Linked DNA regions of Homo sapiens: regions 1 and 3 are each linked to region 2. Evidence: promoter capture Hi-C in 16 types of primary human blood cells and fetal thymus (Javierre and others, 2016). All regions are on one chromosome and are shown on one strand. Each heading gives the region's core, a stretch centred on a gene start or on the middle of the fragment in contact. The rest is flanking DNA. Distances are from core to core; before and after follow the strand shown.

Region 1 (2,878 bases), core at 123-2,622, 200 kb after region 2:
ATAAATGTTATCCGGCCACATGGTGGCCCTGGAGTTGCGCTGCTGGTTCTGGGGGATGCCCAATTCATGAATCATTCTTTGCTCAATTAAACTCTGCTCAATTTAATTTGCCTAAAGTTTTCCTTTTAACGGGATGGTACATAGTACAAGGGAATAATTAGACTAAATGCTAATCAGTCCTGCCGAACTAATTCAAAAAGAAAGACCTGAAAATATCAAATTGTTTACAAGTGACATAATTGTGTTCTAGAACAAATATTTATATAAACATAAAAATGTCCATCACCCTACTAAGTAAAATTCATAAAGTCTGGCATCCAATCAAAAATTACCAGTCAAGCAAAGATCCCTGAGAATACAACCTATAATGAGAAAAACAAATTAAATTTGATCCTTAACTGACACAGATGTTAGAATTAGAAGACAAGGCACTAAACTGTATTACATATGTTCAAAAGGTAAGTAGAGACAAGGAAAATATCAAAAAGACTCAAAGCAAGCTTCTATAGATGAAAACTGCAATGTTCAATATGAAAAATTCACTGGCTAGAATTAAAGGCAGATTAATTACCTGGTTGGTCCTGCCTATAAAAACAAATTTAAAAAATAAAATAAAGACTAGCTAGACATTACGTAAGAAAAGATTACTGAACTTGAAGACATAAAAATAGGAATTACCAATAATGAAACCCAGAGGAACAAGAGAATTTTAAAATATGAACAGACTGGGCACAGTGGCTCCTGCCTATAATCCCAGCACTTTGGGAGGCTGAGGTGGGAGGACCACTAGAGGCCAGGAACTTGAAACCAGCCTGGGCAACATAGCAAGATCCCATTTCCACCCACAAAAATTTTTTTTTAATCCAGGCATGGTGGCATGTGCCTATAGTTCCAGCTACTTAGGATGCTGAGGTGAGATGATAGCTTAAGCCCAGGTATTTGAGGCTGCAGTGAGCTATGATTGCCACTGCACTCCAGCCTAAGTCACAGAGTGAGACCCTGTCTCAAATAAGTAAGTACATAAAAATGAACAGTCAGATGACACCCAGAATGATGATACGAGGCCACCACTCCTTGGATTCATCCCCTGACAAAACAACCAAAACTGGTGAAAATTATGAAACAATGACCACTGAAAGTCTCTGAAACTTGTCCTAAGTCATACAGCAAACAAACAAACATTCAAGAAAATCTACCTAATCTCACTACAGACAGCAAGACTCTGTGGCACTTGGGCATAACCTGTTCCCTCCCTTCCCATCAGCCCAGCATGATGGAAGCCTGGCCCTAGGTAGGCATGGCCAAAAAGATGAGACTCCTTTTCCTCAAAGCTCCCAGTCAAGGGCTAGGGTATCTTTCTGGGAGAGAAAGTTTGCCAGCATCTCTCATCCTCTTTCTCCATGTTCTTTGTTACAGAGGCTAAATTATAGGTTAATCCACCCAAAAAGTCAGAGGCTCTCTTCTTTCATCACTTCTTCACTCATAGGAAGGTAGTGCTACCATAGTCATGGCAATCTGATATTGGGCCCATGTCCTGGCCCTCATTTGCTCACAGGGTAGTGGTTTTAAGTTGGGAGAGAGAAGGTGAGAAGACCAGAGACTACCACCCATATCCACCAACCCACTCATAAAGCAACGATGCTACTCCAAGAAAAGTGACCCACTGTCCCTACCCTTAGGTCTGAAGCAGGTACTCAGAGATTTTTCCTAGTGGTAGAGTCAGGCCGTAAGGACAGAGAACTCTGAAACTCTCCCCAAAGAAACTGACTTTATTTGGAGCACAGTGTCAGGGAGTTCAAGCCTAAGACCACTCTCAAAAACAATGGAGAGTTTGGTGATAAGCAATTAAGAGGAAGCAGTAGCTCCATGAGAGCAGCAAGCTAAATTATAGACCAGCCAGTTTACCAGAGAGGACTGAAAAAAGAGATAGCTAAGAAGAACCCTCCTAGAATCAGAACAAACCTCAAAGACTGGCTTCAAAAACTATCCCTGCAAATGTGTCTGAATTTAACAGGATCAACCAGTGGAGCAATTAATCCATAGGGTACTATTGAACACAATAAAGAATTTGATTGGTAATTAGTACAGCCTAAGAGCTGGTTGTGACTCAAACAAAGGCAGACAGCTTAACAGAAAGATTAAGGAAAAAGATAGTTGAAAGTGCCCTACTAAACTACTGTCATCCCAGGGTGACTGTGCATGTGACCAAGTCTGTGTCCTCTGAAGAATGACATCAGAAGCTTTATACTATGAGGGAAATAGACTTCACTAAAATAGTACAGCCAACTTACTAAATAAATAAATAAGCAAATAGCAACAAGCCTAGGAGGGAAGAAGGGAAGGGAAAAATCGGTATGCAAAATTGCTACAATATCTAAAAGTCTGTTTTTTTAATAAAAATTGTAACTCTTGCCAAACAACAACAATCAGTAAAGTATAAATCATACACAAGAAAAAAAAAAGGAAGACAACAGAAATTATCTTTGAGAAGGTACAGGTGTCAGATTTAACTGATTTCAAAGCAGCCATTATAAATATATTTTAAAAACTAAAGAAAACCATGATTAAAGAAATAAAGGAAGATACGACAGTGTCTCCTCATATAAAGTAAATAAAAAGATAGAATATATATTTTAAAATTGATCTATAGATTCAACATAATCTCTATTAAAATCCTAGCTGGCTTCTTTGCAGAAATTGACAAGGTGATAAAATTCATATGGAAATTTAAAGTACCCCAGAGTAACCAAAACAATCTTGAATAAAAGAACAAATTTGGAGGAATTTCACTTCCTTATTTTAAAACTTACTACAATGATACAATTAAGACAGTGTGGCATTGGCATAGGGATAGACACACACACACACACACACACAC
Region 2 (2,903 bases), core at 303-2,802:
CTGGGGACTTGGGGATGTCACCCTCCTTAGGCTGGATGGCTTCCTCTAGGGACTTGGGGATGTCACCCTCCTTGGGCTGGATGGCTTCTTCTGGGGACTTGGGGATGTCACCCTCCTTGGGCTGGATGGCTTCCTCTAGGGACTTGGGGAGGTCACCCTCCTTGGGCTGGATGGCTTCTTCTGGGGACTTGGAGATGTCACCCTCCTTGGGCTGGCTGGGCTTCACTGAGGCCTTGGGAATATTGCCCAGCTTGGGCTGGATGGGCTTTGCTGAGGACTTGGGGATGTCACCCTCCTTGGGCTGGATGGTTTCTTCTGGGGACTTGGGGATATCACTCTCCTTGGGCTGGCTGGGCTTCACTGAGGTCTTGGCAATATTGCCCAGCTTGGGCTGGATGGGTTTTGCTGAGGACTTGGGGATGTCACCCTCTTTGGGCTGGATGGCTTCTTCTGAGGACTTGGGGAGGTCCTCCTTCTTGGATTGGATGGTTTCTTCTGGGGCCTTGGGGATGTCACCCTCCTTGGGCTGGCTGGGCTTCACTGAGGCCTTGGGAATATTGCCCAGCTTGGGCTGGATGGGTTTTGCTGAGGACTTGGGGATGTTACTCTCTTTGGGCTGGATGGCTTTTTCTGAGGACTTGGGGAGGTCCTCCTTCTTGGATTGGATGGTTTCTTCTGGGGCCTTGGGGATGTCACCCTCCTTGGGCTGGATGGTTTCTTCTGAGGACTTGGGGCTGTCATCCTGCTTGGGATGGCTGGTGTTTGCTGAGGACTTGGGTAGGTCATCGCCCTCCTGTGAGGCATCAGACTCCTCTGTGCGCATGTGGAACGTGTGGCTGACCATGGGGAGAAAGGCCTTCTCTTTGGCCTGGGCTATTTCCAAGAACTCTAGGGCCAGGAGAGGCACGTTGCTGGACAGGACTAGTAATGAGCTTTCTGTACCAAAAAACATAAAATAAAATAAAATAAAATAAATCAAATAGAAATGCAAAAGAAGAACCAAAGAAATTCTCTTCATATTCCAAGGAAGACTGATGTCACTCTTCGAGATCACGAATGAAGTCTGATGAATGATGTATTAATCTGAAAAACTCATTCAGCAGAAGGACAAACAGCGTGTGGTTACACGTATCTTCTGTATACATGTTCTTAAGCTACAACTTTCCCTTCTTGGTTCAACACCCTGCCCGCTCCCTAACTGCATAGGTCTTTAAGGCAACCCTCTTTCCTCCCCTACTTACCATTAGCATCACCTTCACTTGTTTCTTCCTGAGTGCCCAGCCTCATTTCTGGTTTTCCAGAGGCTCCAGCTTTAACACTTTCCATTCCTAGTTCCTTGTCTACATCCATTCCTGATCCTTCATAGATGCCTCATAGTAAAGGCCGTACCCTCCAACTTTTTCCAAGCTATCCATCCTAACATCAAAATATGAGTAAAACTTACATTTGGGTGGCACGTTACAGTTGGTTTTCCCTCTCTGTATTCACAACAGTGATATTTGAGAGCTTCAAGGTGGCTCCCCTGTGCTGAGGCTGGGACTACGCATTCACTGGCATCATTTCCTAGAACACAACAAACCACTGAGGTCAGAACCATTATGATGAGTAGTTTACACATGAGAAGCTATGTAGCTCACTTAAGGTCACAAAGCTAGGGTGGGGGCAGGCTCCAAAGCTCATGCTCTGCACTGTGAGGCTGTGCTGGACTGCTCGCCACAAGTCCCGTCCAGCCTGGGTTCTGTGAATCAACCATCTTATCATCTTTCTCCAGGATCCCCCAGCTCCAACATTCTCTTTACGACTCACCCATTGTGACCAGCTCCTAAGTATCTCCTCGAAACCATGTTAGCCTCCTCTGCAAAGTGTCCCACAATGTCAAATGTTCAGCTCCTGCTAGACAGCCTCTTTCCCCACCTCCCCCACCTCCCAGGCGCACCAGCCCAGCCTGTGCCCTCCCCCATGCAGACACATCCAAGTACACGGCTCTTCCAGCCTTTACATACAGGAGAACAACCTCTTTGTGAATAATCCTGGTTCCATAAGCCACATCTACCCCATCCTGTGGAATGGGAAGCCAAATACCTGTCCCCCAGGGAGACTTATTTTATTAGTTCAGGACCACTGGCTCATTTTCCACCCTCACTCTGCACAACACATCCAGTCCAAGGCAGGAAGAATCAGTGTGGAATTTTGCCTTCTCTACATGTACTTTGAACAAATCCTCATATGTTTCAGTTTCACCCCAACAATATAAGTGTTGAAAGTGGTCAGGCATGGTGGCTCACACCGTGATCTCAGTACTTTGGGAGGCCAAGGTGGGAGGATTTCTTGAGCCCAGGAGTTTGAGATCAGCCTAGGCAACATAGCAAGACCCCATCTCTACAAAAAATACAAAACCTAGCCAGGCACAGTGGCACACGCCTGTCCCAGCTACTTGGGAAGCTGAGGTGGGAGGCTTGCTTGAGCCAGTGAGTTCAAGACTGCAGTGAGCCGTGATCACTACATCGTACTCTAGCCTGGGCAACAGAGCAAGGCCCCGTCTCTAAAAACTAAAAATAAAAGTGTTGAAATCTAAATGATAAGACCTCCACATTGTCAATAGAAACCTCGAAACATCTAATGGCAATGGTTCAATTATCTGGATTTTTATACCAAAACACATTTTACTAAGGGGTAGAGAGACTATTGGCCTTAGCAAATCCATAGTTCCTTTTTTTTTTTTCTTTGAGACAGTCTTGCCCTGTCACCGAGGCTGGAGTGCAGTGGCACAATCTCGACTCACTGCAACCTCTATCTCCCAGGTTCAAGCAATTCTCTTGCCTCACCCTCTCGAGTAGCTGGGATTACAGGCATTCACCACCACACCCGGCTAATTTTTGTATTTTTTTTAGTCGAGACAGGGT
Region 3 (2,700 bases), core at 200-2,699, 170 kb after region 2:
TCCAGAACTGTGAGAATTAAATGTCTATTGTTTAAGCCCTCCAGCCTATGGTATTTTTGTGACAGCAGCTCAAATTAAGACATAAGGGATGGGGGAAGGGACCATGAGAAGCTTGAAAATGCTCCTCAAATGATTCTGATACACACTCCAGAGATGCACTGAGCTCTGAAAGCTGAGGGAGGATGAAAGCAGCAATGCTGACCCTGAACAAAGGAGGAACAAAGGGACCCTGATGGATTCCATCAGCCTGGGATGGGTGCATAAGACACAGTGTTACCATATGCCAGGCACTGCTGGGAAGATAGCCCACTATATCATATTTATTCTCGTGTAACATAGAACGTACCCAGAGTCACCAATGCTGAACATACTTTCCACAAATGGTTCAATTTAGTAGAGGAATCAGTTGTGCCAAGAAATAAATGCTGTGGCTAGCCACTCAACCCTCCCCACCATCCCCCTTCCCCAAGAAATGCCAGTCTCGGGAGAAAAAATAGTAAGTTACTAGAATCTCAGACTTGGAAAGCAAATGTGATCATTACCTAGCCCAACCCACTATCCTATGCATTACTTCCTTCCACAATAACACTAACAAATTCTTATCACCTTATTGGATACTCTGTCATACAGTGCTCATAGCAACTCATGTGAGGTTGCACAGTTCTGATGATCTGCCTTACTGTGAGTATAAATCTGTTCTACTCTTGCGTCCTAGTGTCCCTGGGGAGACAAGAGGCCTTCCATGCGAAGGCCCTGGACATAGGTGAAGTACCCATTACCCAGATGTCTCACCAAATCCCAGGTATTTGACTGCTCTTTAATGAGCCACCATATACATTCCAACAAAGATCACAAGATGCTTCAACAAGCTCCTTACCAGAAGCAGGGAAGCCATCGGCTCTTTTAACTGATCACTCAGCTATTGAGGAAGTGGTAGGAATTTCTAAATTGTTGTCAAGACAACCAAAGTCCAAATATAAATCTCTTTGGGATTCCATCAGGAAGCAGTTTTTAAGTGCACGCAGTTTTTAAGTGCACGCACACAAATACCCCAAGGAGATAACAAAACAAAGGTCCCCTCCTTCTCTTTCTCCTCCTCCCCACTCTCTCCCTTCCTCCTGCTTCTTGCCACATGGTGATGTGTGTTAAAAATGCATACTGGGAAACTTTTCCACCTTTGGGGTTGAAGCAGCTGCTGCCTCAGTGTTGTTTTTGTTAAGTATTTTTTGTTGTTGTTGTTAACATACTTTGTTGCCTTTAAGCTTCATGTTTCATAATACCAGTTCAGATCACAAAGTGGGACGAATGACACTTTCCTGGTAAGAAGGAAACTCATGGGGTCCTGCCCAGGGTGCTTCCCCCTATCAAGCACACCCTCCTGCACGGCTGACTTCCACAGGTGACTCGGCTCAGGCCAGGAAAGGGCGTTCACAAAGGCTTGCTGGGCTGTCCCCATGTGGAATAAACCCAAGAAAGTCCACACATGAAATGTGAGCCAAGAATTTATAACAGGTAACCTAAACAAACCCAACGCTCTTCAGTCCTTGGTTTTCCAAGAACACAAAGCATTCAGAGAATGTTCCACAGGCCATTATCCATCCCATGTGGGAGCATTCACCAATAGAAATAAGCTTGGACATTCCTAATGTGCCAGGAAGACAGGAGAGGTTCAGGTAAAGAAGACCTGGCACCCGGCCCACTTTCACTCCCACCTGCTGCAAATGACTCTAACGTCAGGAGGTAAGACCTCCGACCCCATGGATGGAGCAGGAAACTACAGCAAAGAGTGACCAGCAGGGAGCCTGTGCTGAAAGCGCCTACTGCCCATGCCTAAAACAACCTATACCTTAAATGCGAAGCATGTCCCCAAGTCCCCACTGAGCACAGTACCAGGCACAAAAAGACCAACCCCTCAGCCTTCCCAGTGAGAGTGATATTTTGTTATGAAGTCTATGTTCTCTATCACCTTATAAGGGAAACCCGACAGAAAGTGATTCTAACAGGCAGAAAGAAGGTGTGGCTGTCAGGGTCTTGGTCATAGCAAGACTTCAGGGAGGTGTCTCATGGCTAAAAAACAGGAAGCTGAATGCCAGCCACACACAAAACTTCACCCAGAAAAGACAGACCTCCCTACGCAAAGCACAAATGAGCCCAAGGTTCCTGTTAAAATGTTGAAAGAGCCTGGGCAACATAGGGAGACCCCATCTCTACAAAAATAATAAAAAGTATTAGCTGGGCTGGGTGGTACACACCTGTGGTCCCAGCTACTTGGCAGGCTGAGGTGGGAGGATCACCTGAGCTTGGGAGGCTGAGGCTGCAGTGAGCCAGGATGGCACCATTGCACTCCAGCCTGGGTGACAGAGTGAGACCCTATCTCAAAAATATACATATATTTTTTAAAGGACTTTTGGACTTAGCACTGACTGATCCACAGGGTCTCTCGAATCAAGAGAATAAACCTAGGCTGATGCAGAAGGATCCACTGAGCCCAGGAGTTGGAGGGTGCAGTGAGCTATGATGGCACCACTGCACTCCAGCCTGGATGACAGAATGTGACCTTGTCTCAAAACAAAAAAGAGGAGAGAGAGAGAGAGAGAAGAGAGTAAACCGAAGACAGTCAAATGGTTTTGATCTCCCTCAATGTTATCCCACCCAGAGAATCAGCCTAATTGGATGAGCAGCTAGAAACACAGCCTGCTG

The links. The method cuts DNA at HindIII sites, captures the fragments that hold promoters and counts their contacts. A CHiCAGO score of 5 or more calls a contact.
Region 1: a fragment that was not itself captured here is called in contact with the fragment with the promoter of TXNDC2 in region 2 in 1 of 17 cell types (erythroblasts); the score reaches 8.5 in erythroblasts.
Region 3: a fragment that was not itself captured here is called in contact with the fragment with the promoter of TXNDC2 in region 2 in 1 of 17 cell types (erythroblasts); the score reaches 5.5 in erythroblasts.

Annotation. Positions count from the first base shown.
Region 1 is chr18:9,680,691-9,683,568 of GRCh38, reverse strand. It overlaps LOC124904244 (a long non-coding RNA gene), which reads left to right. Exons shown (of 2, transcript XR_007066281.1): 2 at 1-106. Among named protein-coding and RNA genes, the nearest start is that of RAB31, 26 kb to the left of the region's middle. The HindIII fragment of the contact is 1,740 bases long and covers 503-2,242 here.
Region 2 is chr18:9,884,622-9,887,524 of GRCh38, reverse strand. It overlaps TXNDC2 (thioredoxin domain containing 2), which reads right to left and starts at 1,552. Exons shown (of 2, transcript NM_032243.6): 1 at 1,445-1,552; 2 at 1-936. The coding sequence starts at 844. The HindIII fragment of the contact is 12,861 bases long and covers 1-2,903 here.
Region 3 is chr18:9,711,068-9,713,767 of GRCh38, reverse strand. The region is part of intron 1 of RAB31 (RAB31, member RAS oncogene family); the gene reads right to left. The region is part of intron 1 of LOC105371981 (a long non-coding RNA gene); the gene reads right to left. Among named protein-coding and RNA genes, the nearest start is that of RAB31, 4.1 kb to the right of the region's middle. The HindIII fragment of the contact is 369 bases long and covers 1,265-1,633 here.